Regions from separate parts of the Homo sapiens genome. Here regions 2 and 3 are each linked to region 1. Evidence: promoter capture Hi-C in 16 types of primary human blood cells and fetal thymus (Javierre and others, 2016). All regions are on one chromosome and are shown on one strand. The core of a region is centred on a gene start or on the middle of the fragment in contact, and the rest is flanking DNA. Distances in the headings are between cores, read along the strand shown. Region 1 holds the start of PCDHB1 (protocadherin beta 1). Region 2 has its middle 1.9 kb from the start of PCDHB2. Region 3 overlaps PCDHA1 (protocadherin alpha 1).

Region 1 (2,700 bases), core at 70-2,569:
TGTCAGTGACCAGTGAGTAAGAATTCCCAAATGTAGGTTTGATTACAAAGGGAAGGTCTTCTCTGAGGAAGCAGGTGACTTTTCCTCCCACTCGAATGTCCCGGTCTCTGATAGTGAAAAGGGCTACTACTGTCTGTGGTGGTGAGTCTTCAGGGAGTGGGCTGGACACAGAGGAGACCATCACTTCGGGAGGATTGTCATTCACATCCACCACTTCTACCAGGACTTTGCTGTGGGCAGAGAGGCCTCCACCATCTGTAGCTTGAATGTCAATGTCGTATGTTTCAATGGCTTCAAAATCGAGGGGTCCTCTTAGTCGAACTTCTCCATTTTGAGGGTCAATCTGAAACGTCTTGAGAATTGCTTCTGGGTTTTGAGCTAAAGAGTAAGTTATCGCTTTGTTGGTGCCCTCGTCTAGGTCCACGGCAGTCACCGTGGCCACCAAAGAGCCATTGGGGCTGTTCTCTGATACCTGGGCTCTGTACACCAGTCGCGAGAACTGGGGCACGTGGTCGTTGACATCCAGAACCACCACGTGGATGTGAGCTGTGCCAGACTTAGGCGGGGACCCGCCGTCCACCGCCGTAATTGTCAAGTTGACTTCAGGCTGCTCCTCTCGGTCCAGGGGTTTGTTCAGCACCAGCTCAGCATATTTAGGCCCGTGGCTGCAGAAGCGGGTGTGCAGGTGGAAATACCCATTGGCACTCAGGGTGTAGTTCTGGAGACCGTTAAGGCCCACGTCCAGATCCTGGGCGCTCTGCAGAGGAAAACGTGAACCCAAAGGGGTGCTCTCCGGAATCTTTAAAAGCGGCTCCTTGTTTAGGAAAACTGGGGCATTGTCATTGATATCAAATACCCTGACCTCGGCCCGGAAGGACTGCAGCGGCTCCACCAGGACTACTTCAAAGTGCAGAACACAAGGGTCGGCTTTGCCACAAAGTGACTCCCGATCCAGTTTCTCCTTCACAAACAAATCTCCCGTCTTGCGGTGGAGCCGGAAATGCATTTTGTTGCCCTCGGAAACCAGCCGCGCCCCGCGCGCAGCCAGCTTCCCTACCTCCAGTCCTAGGTCCTTAGCTACGTTGGCCACAAACGAGCCGCTCTCCATTTCCTCTGCCACTGAATAGCGGATAGTTGTCGCATCCCCCACAGATATGCACAGAAAAATGAGAAGAGATCCCACTTGCCTGTTTTGCAAAGATTTTCTGCGCGTACCCGCCATCAGTTCTCACAAGCGCGCTCTCTGCAATCAGAGCCAACTGTTGCGGATATACTTTCACTTTTCTGCAACAGGTTACTGCAACAGCTGCTCTCCGCTTCACTAGCCTCTAACTGCAGCACCACCAAAGGCTAGCCGAGCCCATTAAGCTGTTTTGCACTTGAAAGAAAATTTGCATTGAGCGACTCAACTCCCCAGTCTAGCGAATGTATTAATAGATATGTTCTCATTCCGGAGAGTTAGGTAGAGGTTGAAAGTTTGTTGCCAAAGCAACAACAGACTCACCTGTTAATTCCCTTTCAGGAAAAAAAGTCCTTGGGAATTGAGAAGCCAATGAGATTAGTCGTTCAAGCTGAAGTCATTCTATCTGCTAGCTGTCTGGAGCCACTGAAGCTGTGGGCGAACAGCAACAAGTTTAAGCTACATCTGCACACTCTGCGGTCCATCCAGAGACCAAGAAAGAAGCACAAGGATCCTGCAGAGTCTTCCGAAGCCCAAGCCAAATATATGAGGCAGGGAGCTAGAGAATGTGGAGGAAGTGGTCAGTAGGAAAAGGAATGGGAACAGACATTCTCCTTCAGAAACTTGAGGTCCAGTAAGTACACTGACAGGGGACTAAGCCAACTGACCTCTTGATTTGCACTACGCTATCATGCTACTTCTACGTATTCGCTCCGCCCCCCTCCAAATATCTGTATACACGTGCACAAAGGGAGCAGCTGGCTTGTCACTTATGATTATAATGGCAGTAGTATTTATTGGATATGATTTCCATGTACTGAGACTATGACAAGTGATTTACATGCATTATTTAATTTAATACTTGCAACAACTATATGGAGTAGACATTATTAAAAAAAAAAAAAGACAAAGAAAGTGAGATGGGAGAGGTTATGTCAAGGTCCCCTACCTAGCAAATGTTAGAAATAAAACTCAATTTAATTTTGTCTGACTCCGAAGTCTATGCTCTTAATCAGTACACTACTCTGCTTCCCAGATAATATAATGAATAAATCAAATGAAGATAAATATTTGGTTTTGGATTTTAAAGCAAATAAAATAAGATTGCTTACACATATTGAAAATGACCTAATAGAAATATAGGAGATATTTGTTGAGTTTCCTTTATGATCATAGGATAATAGAATGTTTAATAAGACATTTCAGAAAGATGAGATCCAGTCTCCTTCTCACCCACTCTCCACTTTAAAAAAAAAAAAAAACAGATGAAGAAACTAAGGCCCGAAGTGATGAAGTCACTTGCCCAATTCATACAGCTACTCATGGCAGTGTAAGAACTAGAACTTGTCTTCTGATGCTGTCTCATGCTCATTACCTAAAACATTTGATTTCTCATTTGTGCTCAATACTTTATGTCCCAGGTGCTATAAAATTATGGCCACTTAACGGAAATCTAACTATATTTTCCAATAGGAAAAAAAGAATGAAAGTAGAAAGTGTACAGAACATTAATTACATCC
Region 2 (2,700 bases), core at 108-2,607, 41 kb before region 1:
TTCCTGAACTTTGATGTGTCTGAGCCTCATGAAACTCTCCAAGAGCAGCCAGATATTTCCTTATTGTAAATGTATCAATATTATTTTCCTTTCTAATGCCTAGGAGAACTTTCAACATAACCTCAATTCAATTACCACATCTAGCAAAGAGCAATTTCATAATATTAAATAGCCAGTAAATATTCCAGTTTCCCCAATTATCTTTAAAAATGTCTTTTCAGTGATGGTTTCTTCAATCTGCTTCCAAACAGGGTATATATGTCATTGTTTGTTGTTAGGTTTTTTAATTTTGTCTTTTTGTTTCTTTTTTAATGTTAATATAAAGAAGTTATCAAGCCACAGAATGACATGAAGGAAACTTAAATGCATATTTCTCAGTGAAAGAATCCAGTCTGAAAAGGCAATGATACTGTATAATTCAAATTACATGATACTCTGAAAAAGGCCAAATTATAGAGACATTTAAAAGACAAGTGATAGCTAGGAAGAAGAGGGAGGGGGATGAAGAGGTTAAACATGGGGTACTTTACGATACTACAATGGTAGATACATGACATTATGCCGTTGTCAAAATCCACAGAACTATACAACACAAAGAGTGAACACTAAACTATGAAATTTAGTTAATAATTTACCAGTATTGGCTCATCAATTGTAACAAATGTACCACAGTAATGCAAGATTTTGATAACAGGGAAACTTTGAGTGGGAGAAAATCGGTATGTGAGGGGAACTGTTTGTACTATTTGCTCAATTTTCTGTAAACTCTAAGGCTGCTTTAAAAAATAATTTTACTTTGGGAGGCCGAGGCAGGCAGATCACGAGGTCAAGAGATCAAGACCATCCTGGCCAACCTGGTGAAACCCCATCTCTACTAAAAATACAAAAAAAATGAGCCAGGCATGGTGATGGGTGCCTGTAATCCCAGCTACTTGGGAGGGTGAGGCAGGAGAATCACTTGAACCCGGGAGGCGGAGATTGCAGTGAGCTGAGATCATGCCATTGCACTCCAAGCCTGGTGACAAAGCGAGACTCCATCTCAAAATAATAATAATAATAATAAATATTAGGATGTGTCTCTAAAAGATCCATTGGGTTAAAAAATTGGGGGATGAAGAAAAAAATTAAATATATAGAACAGTTAAAAGAACTATACATAAACTACAACTCTAACCTCCATCCAAACTTAACAATTGTTTATATTTTACCATATTTGTTCTATCTTATTCTGTACACACACCCGCTTTTCTGATGACTTATATGAAAGTAACTTGCAGACATCATATTTCACCTCTAAATATTTCAGCAGGTATCACATAATTATAATATTATCTCATATAATCATAATGGTTCTATCATACCTAAGAAAATTTAAAAAAATTCTACAGTTATCTAAAATCCAGCCCCAATCAAATTTCACTGTCTTTCCATTATCTTTTCCTCAATTTTGATAAGAATTCACACTCACTCAAGTTCCTTTGACAAATGCACTTACTTTTTTAACTATTTGTTATAAGGAATGTCTTAGAAACTTTTTCAACCAACTTTGATAATTGTATTTGGCTATTAGATCTATTTACTCTAGAATACTCCCCCATCTTTAATGACATTAGATTTCTGAAGTGTCCAGACTAGTTGTTTTGTAGGATGTCCTACATTCCAAATTTGATTGTTTCCTCATGGTATCATTTAACCTGTTCTTCTATCCCCTGTATTTTCAGAAAACTGGACTGGATGATTTATTAAATGTAACAATAGCATAATATTTTAAAAAGCTCTCATTTATCATCTTGTAACTGGCTAAAAAAAGGATAATCACAGGTTCCTTTTCTTAACATTTAGAAAACAAATGCCTATCTCTACCTGTTGATATTATTTTTTGCTTTCCATGATTATTACTTTTATATGGATGTTATAATAATTCAAAATATGTTAATTCATTGACATTGAGCATTAAACAAATTCATTGAGGTGAATAACACCCAAGGTCCAAGTCTTTAAAAACAGCTTTTTATATAATCTGCAAAACCTGATTAGGGTCCGAAATAGATGTAGTGAAGATCAGTTATATCATACAGGCAAATTATAACTGGTAGGTTACTCGAAATTTTATATTTAACCAGGTATATGGCTATTTCCTTTGGACAGGTTTTCTGAACTAAAGCAGTTATGGTTAATTTGGGATAACATAAAGGAGAGGAAAATAGGTAATATGAAGAAAATAACATAATCTCTTCTCACAAGCTGGAGAATAGAAAACTTAATATCTAAGATATTTCAGAGGATACAATAACCAAGAACACATTAGGTTTTATTGTGAAAAAAATTTTAAAACCTCTCATGTTGTCATGTGTCCTCACAATTCAGAAGGTTTTACCCATCTTTCATTTCAATGCTATTAACACACCTAGAAATAGAAGTAAGTTTCTCTTTTTCAAAGATTATATAACCAACACCAATATTTTATATTCGTATATAGGTTTCCAGCTTTAAATGCATTATATCCGCTATGCTATTTTAAATCATTTATTTTCTTAAACCTTGATGAGAATACACCTTCCTTCTTTACAAATGCTCTTATTTTCTTAATCTCCTTTAATAAGGAATCATATATATTAGATTATAATTTATAGCATATTTATAAGTCTGAATGAAATATGTTTACATATAGTAATTATTTATATTATAATGAGGGGAATC
Region 3 (2,700 bases), core at 61-2,560, 47 kb after region 1:
TTTTTTTATTGTTGTTTGTTAGAGATAGGTTCTCACTCTGTCAACCAGGCTGAAGTGCAGTGGTGCAATCATTGCTTGATGTAACCTCAAACTCCTGGACTCAATCGACCCTCCTGTCTCAGCCTCCCAAGTGGCTGGGACTACAGGCCACCATACCTGGCTCCTTGGAGTTGTTTTTGCCTCAGGATCTTTACACATCTGGTTTGCTTTTGTCTTGAATGATTTCTCATCCATTCTTTTTTTTTTTTTTTTTTTTTTTTTTTTTTGAGACGGAGTTTCGCTCTGTCGCCCAGGCTGGAGTGCAGTGGCGCGATCTCGACTCACTGCAAGCTCCGCCTCCCGGGTTCACGCCATTCTCCTGCCTCAGCCTCCTGTGTAGCTGGGACTACAGGCACGCGCCACCATGCCCGGCTAATTTTTGTATTTTTAGTAGAGACGGGGTTTCACCGTGTTAGCCAGGATGGTCTCGATCTCCTGACCTCATGATCCGCCCGTCTCGGCCTCCCAAAGTGCTGGGATTACAGGCGTGAGCCTCTCATCCATTCTTAGCATGACTCCTCACTCTTCAAGTCTGTATTAAATGTAACCTCCTTGGAAAGGCATTCTATGACATTCCTAGCCAAGCAGCACCCCCTTGGCCTATTATTCTCTACCACTGTAAGATTCACAAAGGCAAAAAATGTATCTGTTTATTCACCAATGTATCACCAGTGCCTAGCACAATTCCTGGCCCATAACAGGTGTTTAGTAAATACTTGCTGGATGAATGAATGAAAGGACTGATGTGAGAAGTGAAAGTGGTACCCACTCTTTAGCAGACCAAACAACTCTCCAATGAGGCACTTTTGGGGTCCCTAAAGACAATGATGTAATGCATGTAAAGTACTAAGCTTGATCCTTAGCACAATGCAAGAATTCAGTAAATGGTATCACATATGGGCAATTATATATAATGCAGCTCTCAGGGCTTAGGAGACCAAGATAATGATACTGCAAATTTACAGCAGGCAGTGACGAGAGAGGGTAAGAAATTTTCTTCTCTCTTCCAAACCCTTTTCCTTACACCCTGGCAGAGCTGACACAATAGCACTTTAGGGATGAGAAACAAATTTTTTCTCTGAGACTAATGACTTTGATCTATCTAAGTTAATCAAATCTGCAATTGAGCTCAGCCAGAATCTGCCTGTTTACCTTTAAAATACAGGTCCTGTCTCTAAGAGACTGAGACAAAAGAGAGAAATGTATTTAAAAACCTCTGATTCGGCACCTAAAACTGGGTTTCAGCACCACTCCACAGTCCTTTAGTTGCCCTCAGAGCCCAAAATGGAAATTTTTCTTCAACCATAACCAGGACTCTGCATGAGGCCTAAGCACTGTCATCTGGAGATGCAGAACACAGAGATATGTTCATCTTGCACAGTTAAAGGACATTAATGGCTGTGTGTATTGGCAGAGGGAGCCCCTCACAGCAGGACTGCCAAGAGTTAATCCACTTTAACATGTCACTGAGCTTCCTGGTTCTATATGACTCAGCCTAAACTCCAGGAGGCAGAGATCTAGTCAGGTGCCTCCTCCACATGTCCAGCTTCCGCAGAGCAGAACAAGGTGTGGTCTCTCCAGTCCCTCACAGACCACTGTGCCTCACCTGTTCTGGTTGTTGTATAAAACAAACATCTCTGAGAGCTCAGCAGCATGTAGACTGTGACTCATTCCAGTAAAACAAAAGCTTAAGGATCTGACAAACACTGACTGACCTCCTAATCTGAATTCCTTTTGGTTAAGAGCACTCAAGACACTTGGCTGGCTTTGCCTATAAAATGTCATGCCTTTGGGGCAGAATCATGGAGATACTCCCTTTTGAAGAAGATGAAAACGGAAGAAGCACATTTCTACCCCTAACCCCAACCAGGGGCCAGTATCAGCAAATGATCAATCAAGGAAATGTTTCTTCTTTCAGTGCTGCCTCCTTTCCCTTCTAGGATCTCCGGCAAGTCCCCTCCCTTATGCTCCCAGGGTCCTAGCTCACCCTCAGGCAAAGACAAGACTGAGGATGCAGTCAAGACCCAAATGAATGGGCCTGTTAAGAGGCTAGAAGGAGGATTTCAGACACATATAAATCTGGTAGGGGTCTGAATCGTTAGGCAGAGCCCTTCCCAGACTACAGATTACAACCCAATAGGATTTAAAAGTTTATTTAACAGAATACGACCATAATTATACAAAATATGGTTTTGCTTTTTTATTGGATTAGCCGATATCTTCACAATTGGTAGGGATATATTTTAAAATCAGAACAACATATATTTTAATAAATGCATACAGATCTTCACTTCTACTTTAAAAACTGCCCTCTGGGGCCGGGAATGGTGGCTCACATCTAAAATCCCAGCACTTTGGGAGTCTGAGGCAGGTGGATCACTTGAAGCCAGGAGTTCAAGACCAGCCTAGGGAACATGGTGAAACCCCATCTCTACTAAAACTATAAAAATTAGCGAGACTGTGGTGGTGCACGCCTGTAATTTCATCTACTTGGGAGGCTGAGGCATAAGAATCACTCGAACCCGGGAGGCGGAGGTTTCAGTGAGCTGAGATTGCACCACTGCACTCCAGCCTGGGTGACAGAGCAAACAAACAAAAAACCCTGCCCTCTGGAAGTAGCTGGCCACTTCATGTAATCCTATAATCCAATTTGGGCACTTC

The links. The method cuts DNA at HindIII sites, captures the fragments that hold promoters and counts their contacts. A CHiCAGO score of 5 or more calls a contact.
Region 2: a contact is called between a fragment that was not itself captured here and the fragment with the promoter of PCDHB1 in region 1, in 1 of 17 cell types (neutrophils). The highest score is 5.3, in neutrophils.
Region 3: a fragment that was not itself captured here is called in contact with the fragment with the promoter of PCDHB1 in region 1 in 1 of 17 cell types (neutrophils); the score reaches 5.3 in neutrophils.

The regions. Positions count from the first base shown.
Region 1 is chr5:141,049,993-141,052,692 of GRCh38, reverse strand. PCDHB1 (protocadherin beta 1) reads right to left here and starts at 1,319. Exons shown (of 1, transcript NM_013340.4): 1 at 1-1,319. The coding sequence starts at 1,222. It overlaps PCDHB1-AS1 (PCDHB1 antisense RNA 1), which reads left to right. Exons shown (of 4, transcript NR_105056.2): 3 at 1,523-1,814. It also overlaps PCDHB@. RefSeq lists an enhancer at 910-1,738. The HindIII fragment of the contact is 4,524 bases long and covers 1-2,700 here.
Region 2 is chr5:141,091,360-141,094,059 of GRCh38, reverse strand. It overlaps PCDHB@. Among named protein-coding and RNA genes, the nearest start is that of PCDHB2, 1.9 kb to the left of the region's middle. The HindIII fragment of the contact is 3,290 bases long and covers 1-2,700 here.
Region 3 is chr5:141,003,268-141,005,967 of GRCh38, reverse strand. All of the region lies in intron 3 of PCDHA1 (protocadherin alpha 1), which reads right to left. All of the region lies in intron 3 of PCDHA2 (protocadherin alpha 2), which reads right to left. All of the region lies in intron 3 of PCDHA3 (protocadherin alpha 3), which reads right to left. The region is part of intron 3 of PCDHA4 (protocadherin alpha 4); the gene reads right to left. It also overlaps PCDHA5, PCDHA6, PCDHA7, PCDHA8, PCDHA9 and PCDHA10, and 7 more genes. Among named protein-coding and RNA genes, the nearest start is that of PCDHAC2, 38 kb to the right of the region's middle. RefSeq lists an enhancer at 1,072-1,664. The HindIII fragment of the contact is 836 bases long and covers 893-1,728 here.